2 separate regions of the Homo sapiens genome follow, and region 2 is linked to region 1. Evidence: promoter capture Hi-C in human tissues and cell types (Jung and others, 2019). All regions are on one chromosome and are shown on one strand. Each heading gives the region's core, a stretch centred on a gene start or on the middle of the fragment in contact. The rest is flanking DNA. Distances are from core to core; before and after follow the strand shown. Region 1 has its middle 4.1 kb from the start of LINC00628. Region 2 holds the start of MDM4 (MDM4 regulator of p53).

Region 1 (3,623 bases), core at 556-3,055:
GGCCATCATGTGTGCTCTGGAGCCCTCTTGTGGATTCTTGCGGTAAGTGCATACAGGCTTGCAGTGCGTTTCTCCCACGTTTTAACCTTTCGCTTGTTCTCTCCTCCTCCCACCACTCTTCCCAGTAAATGACACCTTCAAAACCACACGCACACTCGAGCAAAACGTCTGTTGTGGATACCATGAGAGTCACTTCCTAAATACCCTGAAAGAAAGAGCTTTTTGACACACAATTAACACATTTGTCTGCTCCTGGGCAAATGTCAATATTTGCTCATTGAAATTTCCCTCCCTCATCCACACTAAAAGAAACAAAATAACTCCTCCGGTTGTCTGGCTCTTATTATTACTTGGAATCCATGTCTGAAGTCGTTTGAGTTTCTAACTCATCCACCAACCAAATGTCATAAACCTTTGTGGGAACTGTGAAAATAGGAACGAACGGTGAGCCAGTCGTTCATTCATTCACTCACTCATTCAGCAAGAACTTACTGAGCACTTCGTTTGTCCAAGCAAGGTGCCAAGGATGCTGGGAAGCAGCCGTGCCATCATGCTAAGAGCAAAGCCTGTGAAATCAGGCACACATGAGGCCGCCTTCCCGCTTGCTTTCTATTAATACAAGCTTTGTGACATTGAGTAATACATACGAAGAACCAGTTTTCCCATTATTTGCTAAAAGCGGGATGATAGAACCTCCTCATAAAGGTGCGGTGAGGAATAAATGAGATAATGTCATAAAGCACTTAGCTCCTAGAGTGGCGGCTGCTGCTATGATATACAGAATGACCACCAGGTCTGGAAATGTATGTGAACACAGAATTCATGGCTGGTTGATAATTAAACAATATTGCCTGTGTCTCCGGACTTTACGACCCCCCTGTGTTGCCCCTGCCCTTGATGAGTTTTCAGTCTAGGCTACTGGTTCTCGAAGTGTGGGCCCCAGAGCAGCCACAGCAGCATAACCTGAGAATGTGTTGGAAGTGCAAATTCTAGACCCTCTGAATCCGAAACTCTAGGGGTAGGGCCCAGCCATCTGTGCTCCAACAAACCCTCCAGTGATTGTGATACACGCTCCAGTTGGAGAGTTACTAATCTAGTGGAAAATGACACAAGTATAAGCAAATAACTACCATACACGGACACATCCCTGAAGAAGTGACATCATGGGCAGGGCTTGAAGGAAGAACAAGTGTTCTCAGGTGGGCATGAGCCACATGAGGAGAGATTGGCACCTACAAAGCCCCGGAAGCATGAAAGGGAAGCGAATGTTGAGGGAACCACAAGTGATTTGGCAGGGCTAGAGGAGAGGGCTAAAGAGCCAGGTGGGGAGTGTGGGAGGTGAGGCTGGGAAGGGGGGCGGGAGCGAGACTATGATGCCCTTTACGTGCCCAGATAGGGAATTTAGATTTTATCCTGTAAGTGACGGGTAACATGCAAAGTTTTTAATGGAGAATAATATGACCAAATTTGAATTCTAGAAAGAAAGCACTCTTGCAGCATTATGGCCTGGAGGCAGGAAGATCAGTTGGAAAGCTTCTACAATAATGGAAGTGAGAGTCCATGTGGGCCTGAACTCAGGCCATGGCTATGGAGATATCGAGAAGTGGGTGGGTTGAGAGATATTTGGGAGGAGAATTGACAGGACCCATGGGGGAGGCATGAGAGCGGGAAAGGTTGAGGGTATCTCCGAGGGCTCTGCTTTGCTGGTATTTCTAGAAAAGATGGAACCGGCACAGAGAAGCAATGACTTCAAGTCTGGACACAATGAATTGAGGGAGCTCAGAAGAAAGCTCTGGGCTGGTAGCTGAAGCAGAAATCAATTATGCCTGTGTTGTTTGTCTCCCAATGTTTATCATGCATGCATTCATTTCAGGAAATACTGGATTGCTATCATGCACCAGAAAGGTTCTAGGAGGGAGTGAAAAACACAATAGCCAGAATCTGCTCCCAGGACTTACACAGCAGTGGGGGGACCAGAAATACATAACCAAACAGATACATAAACAAACGTGTTTCAGGTAGTGCCAGGTGCTGTGAAGAAAAGTAAGAGTAAGAGTGTGGAGGGGTGGGGGAATTCAGGCAGAGCAGTCAGGCATGGCCTCTCTGAGGAGGTGACATGGGCTAATCGAGAAGTCGGAACCAGGTGTGTGGAAATGGGAGGACAGTGCTCCCAGGCAGGGGGAACAGCAAGCGCCAAGGCTCTGAGGTGGGAATGGGTTTGACATGATGGTGGGAAGGAAAGATGGCAGCACAGCCAGCCAGTCATGGGACACGAGGTCAGAGAGGTGGACAGGTACGTTTCTAGGGACTGGTGAGATGCCGTAATACATGTGAAAGTGTTTAGTGAACAATCTCTAGAGCCATGTACCAAAAGGAATATGAAGATGGTATCTGCAAGAGGGAGAAAAGAAGAAACAATTCACAATTCTTAACTGAAGCAAGAAGCATTTGGGTCCAAACAGGAAAAATTCAGTCTATAACTGTCATGTGATATTAGAATAATTTCCAGAACAGATACTTTGAAAGGAAGACGAAGAAGGAGGAAGAGCAGGAAGAAGAGGAGAAAGAGGAGGAGGAGAAGGAGGAGGAACAAAAGAAAAAGAAAAAGAAGAAAAGAAAGAAAAGAAAAATTTGCTTTCGCTTTAAGAATATGGTTAACAGGCCCAGGCATGGTGGCTCACGCCTGTAATCCCAGCACTTTGGGAGGCCAAGGTGGATGGATCCCTGGAGGCCAGGTGTTCGAGACCAGCCTGGCCAACATGACAAAACCCCATCTTGACCAAAAATACAAAAATTAGCCAGGCATGGTGGTGGGCACCTGTAGTCCCAGCTACTCAGGAGGCAGAGGCACGAGAATCTCTTGAACCCCGGAGATGGAAATTGCAGTGAACTGAGATCGCACCACTGCACTCCAGCCTGGGTGACAGAGTGAGACCCTATCTTAAAAAAAAGAAAAAATAGGTTAGCGGCTAAGCTGATGTAGGTGGTAGATGGTGGCAGATCTAAGTGCTGGCAGATCTTGGCGGTGGGGGATTGGAAACGTAACCCCTCCTAGTACAGATGGATGAGGATTTCAAAGCAGAGAGGGACGGAAAGGGGATGAGACAAGGGTCCTCCCTGCCCTGGCTAGACTGGGGCTCCCTCTGGTGGTGCCATTGCCCCAGGAGGCTGGGCAGAGGCGCTTCACCATCCCTGCAGAATCTGAGGCCAGACCAGAAGGTGAGGCCCACAGGCCTGGGCACGCTGAGCCTCACCCTTGCGAATGAAACCAGATGGAGAGACCCAGGCCAAGGCAGAGAGAAGTGAGTTCAACTGGGTAGCTCATGCACCACCCCAGCCCAAAGAGCTCTGTCTTCTGCTTCCAAGATTAAGTCCAGGGCAACTTCCCAAGGCACACCTTTAGCCACGGCAGGAAATAAGGGCTCCCCAGCCCACAGAGGGGCCTGACCAACTCCTAGGAGGAAAATAGGGCATCTCCGCCCACACAAACCACCCCCAGAATCGCAGATGCCCCCATCCACAAGAGCAAGAGTGACCGGAGCTGGCCTTGCCACCACCAGTCTGATGTCCTCCTTCGTACACCCCACGGACACCTTCCCTTCCCACTGCCTCCACATCCTGCC
Region 2 (3,889 bases), core at 152-2,651, 150 kb after region 1:
AGGTGCAAAGAACACTGAGATGGAGCTTTCTTGGGTTACACAGCCAGTTTTAATGTTTCCTAATATAGAAGAGCTTTCAACAAACCTCTCAGGCAGGCTGTCTTCAAATGACATTACTTCCCCCAAATACCTAATTTCATTTATTTCAGAACAACTCTAAATGTTAGAGGATTTTCTGAGCTTAAAAATACTGCCTTGTAATTTCTATTGGTTTTAGTTCTGCACTTTGGAGAAGAGAATAAGGCTCCGTTATTTCCAATATTATACTATTCAGTTATTTGAAGACAGCTTCCAATTTCTATGCTCAACCCTTTCCCTCTTTTTTTTTTTTTTTTTTTTTGAGATGCAGTTTCGCTCTTGTCGCCCAGGCTGGAGTGCAATGGCGCTATCTCGGCTCACTGCAACCTCCGCCACCCGGGTTCAAACGATTCTCCTGCCTCGGCCTCCTAAGTAGCTGGGATTACAGGTGACCGCCACCATGCCCCGCTAATTTTTTGTATTTTTAGTAGAAACGGGGGTTTCGCCATGTTGGGCAGGATGGTCTCGAACTGCTGACCTCAGGTGATCCGCCCGCCTCGGCCTCCCAAAGTGCGCTGGGATTACAGGGGAGAGCCACTGCGCCCGGCCTCCCTCGTTTATATGCAGGTTAAAAACTCCCTTGAGCCTTCAACTATTTCTTTTTCTTTTTTTTTTTTTTTTTTGAGGAGTTTCGCTCTTGTTGCCCAGGCTGGAATGGCGCTATCTCGGCTCACTGCAACCTCCGCCTCCCAAGTTCAAACGATTCTCCTGAGTAGCTGGGATTACAGGCATGCGCCACCACACCCGACTAATTTTGTATTTTTAGTAGAAACAGGGTTTCACCATATTGGTCAGACTGGTCTCGAACTCCTGACCTCAGGTGATCCGCCTGCCTTAGGCCTCCCAAAGTGCTGGGATTACAGGCGTGAGCCACAGCGGCTGGTGCTTTCAACTATTTATTTGACATGGCTTCAAGCTTCCTTGCCACCCTAGTGCCGCCATCGCTCCGTTTCCCTTCCCTACCACCCTTGGGGAGTAAGGGTGAGGACTGGGGAATGGCAGAGGAAGCGTAGTTTTTCCGAAGAGCTGAAGGCAGCCTGTGATTATGACCTTAGCTCTTCCTCTTCTCTGTTTTCTGATCTCCTAATACACGTCTGTAAATATCACAAGACCCTGCAAGTCCCTCACTTATTATCTCTTCAAATCTGACGACTTTCAACCGTTCGGGCCCCACGACTCTCTCCCCGGACTAGGATCTACTCTATGGTAGTGAGCTCAGCCTTTCTAGCTCTCTAGTCCTCCCATTGCTCCATCTATGGTTTCCGGAGGCCTCACCGGAAGCCCTCGTGTGAGGCCGTGTGGGAGGCCGGAAGTTGCGGCTTCATTACTCGCCATTTCAAAATGCTGCCGAGGCCCTAGGATCTGTGACTGCCACCCCTCCCCCCACCCGGGCTCGGCGGGGGAGCGACTCATGGAGCTGCCGTAAGGTGTGGCTCTTGGCCTTCGTCGGCGGGGTGCCGGGAGCGGGAGCTGGAGAGTGAGGAGCAGGCGGCCGTACCGCCAGTTGTGCGGGTAGCGGGCGGGAGGAGCTTGAGAGGTGGGTCGGGCGGCGTGGGGAAGGCCGCGCCAGGCGGAAGAAGGGCTCGGGGGGAGGGGAAGAGTTGTGGGATGAGGGCTCGCGGAAGATAAAAGTGGAGGTGGGGTGACGTGAAGTAACTTTGGCCAACAGGTGACAAACCTAAAGTCGACGTAGTTGGATTGAGTTTAACTGGACACAACATTTGAGGACTGTTGAGGCAATTTGGAGAAAGGAGGTGGGAGAGAGGGAACCGGGTAGAATGACATTGACGTGTCTTAAGTTTTTAAGTTAGTTTTTAGGTCTGCGGACAGTCTACCTTAGAGGCACTTGAGTGCTTGTTTGAAAATGCTTGTTTTGGCTTGGCGCGGTGGCTCACGCCTGTAATCCCAGCACTTCAGGAGGCCGAGGTGGGTGGATCTACCTGAGGACAGGAGTTCGAGACCAACCTGGCCAACCTGGTGAAACCCCGTCTCTAGTAAAAATACAAAAATATTAGATGTGTGTGGTGGCGCATGCCTGTAATCCTAGCTACTCGGGAGGCTGAGGCAGGAGAATCACTTGAATCCGTGGGCGGGGGTTGCAGTGAGTCGAGATCGCGCCACTGCACTCCAGCTTGGGCTACAGAGGGAGATTCCGTCTCAAAAAAAAAAAAAGAAAAAATGTTCGTTTTGGGGCCACACTGAAACCTACAGACAGTATCGAGATGGGGCTCAGAGAAATATATTTTAATGAGCACACCTCCCAGTGATTTTTGTATACCTTAAAGCTTGAAAACCACAGGTTTTTTTGGTTGTGTTTTTGTTTTGTTTTTGTTTTTTTTGAGTGGAGTTTCGCTCTTTTTGCCCAGGCTGGCGTGCAGTGGCGCGATCTTGGCTCACTGCAACTTCTGCCTCACGGGTTCAAGTGATTCTTCTGCCTCAGCCTCCCGGGTCGCTGGGATTACAGGTGTGCGCCACCACGCCTGGCTAATTTTGTGTTTTATTAGAGATGAGGTTTCACCAGGTTGGCCAGGCTGTTCTCGAACTCCAGACCTCAGGTGATCCGCCCACCTCGGCCTCCGAAAGTGTTGGGATTACAGGCGTGAGCCACCGTGCCCGGCCGAAAACCACAGTTTAAAAGCAACACCCGGAGAAAATGCTGCAGCTCTGTGCTGTTGGCACGTGGAACTAGTATCTGTCAAAGATACTTGGAACCTCTTGGTGTTAAGTATTACTGTATCTCAGTTTAGATTTAGTCTTCTCTCTCCTCATACATTTTTTTTTTAATAGATGGGATTTCGGCCAGGCCCAGTGGCTCACACCTTTAATCCCAGCACTTTGGGAGGCCAAGGGGGCAGGTTTGCTTGAGTCTCGGAGTTCGACACCAGCCTAGGCAACAAACTGAGCCCCATCTCTGCAAAAAATAAAAAAATCAGTGTCATAGAGCGAGCTTCCAGTCCCAGCTACCCAAGAGACTGAGGTGGGAGGATTGCTTGATCCCAGGAGGTAAAGGCTGCAGCAAGCCGGGATGGAGCTACTGCACTCTAGCTTAGGCGACAGCGCGAGAGCCTGTCTCAAAAAAAGAGATGAGGTCTCACTGTGTGCTCAGGCTGCAGTGCAGTGGCTATTCACAGGTGTGATCATTGCACACTACAGCCTGAAACTCCTGGACTCTAGGGATCCTCCTGCCTCAGCCCTCCGGAATAGCTGGGACTACAGGCACAGGCCACCGGCTGCAGTTGGTTTTTTAAGATTCTATAACAATCGTTAATCTTTAATTAAAGATTTAATCTTCCCAGTTTAATCTTCCCACTTTAATCTTCCCTGCCGTCCCAGGTCCTGTAGAACACCTACGTTCTGGATTTGACTTATTAACTGCTTGCTCTCCATTTTCCCTAGTAACTTGCAGTTAGTAGGTAGGTCTAGATTTGGATTATTTATCTTTTGGTCAGGAATACTTAATAGGTGTTGTGCTAGTTTCTTGTTGCTTCATAATCAAGTAGTATATGGTGTGTGAATGACCCTCTTTTAGTGATAAGGTTGGGGATGGTGGAATGGTCAGCCTACTCCACGTGTTTTCTTTCCACCCCAACCTTTCACTCAGATGGCTTTAGCATCCCCTACCCCTGCCACTGGAGTGAAGTGGTATGATCTTGGCTCACTGCAACCTCTGCCTTCTGGGTTCAAGCTATTCTTCTGCCGCAGCCACGCAAGTAGCTGGATTACAGGCGTTGTGCCACCACGCCCAGCTAATTTTTGTATTTTCAGTAGAGAGAGGTTTTCATTATGTTGGCCAGGCTGGTCTTGAACTCCT

What was found. The method cuts DNA at HindIII sites, captures the fragments that hold promoters and counts their contacts. A contact is called where the count stands out against the background at its distance.
Region 2: a contact is called between the fragment with the promoter of MDM4 here and a fragment that was not itself captured in region 1, in 1 of the 25 tissues and cell types used here (bladder).

The regions. Positions count from the first base shown.
Region 1 is chr1:204,363,818-204,367,440 of GRCh38, forward strand. It overlaps a transcript of PLEKHA6 not described here. Among named protein-coding and RNA genes, the nearest start is that of LINC00628, 4.1 kb to the right of the region's middle. The HindIII fragment of the contact is 5,440 bases long and covers 1-3,623 here.
Region 2 is chr1:204,515,005-204,518,893 of GRCh38, forward strand. MDM4 (MDM4 regulator of p53) reads left to right here and starts at 1,402. Exons shown (of 11, transcript NM_002393.5): 1 at 1,402-1,505. RefSeq lists enhancers at 1-795, 656-1,855, 796-1,706, 1,145-1,274, 1,285-1,364 and 1 more. The HindIII fragment of the contact is 11,632 bases long and covers 1-3,889 here.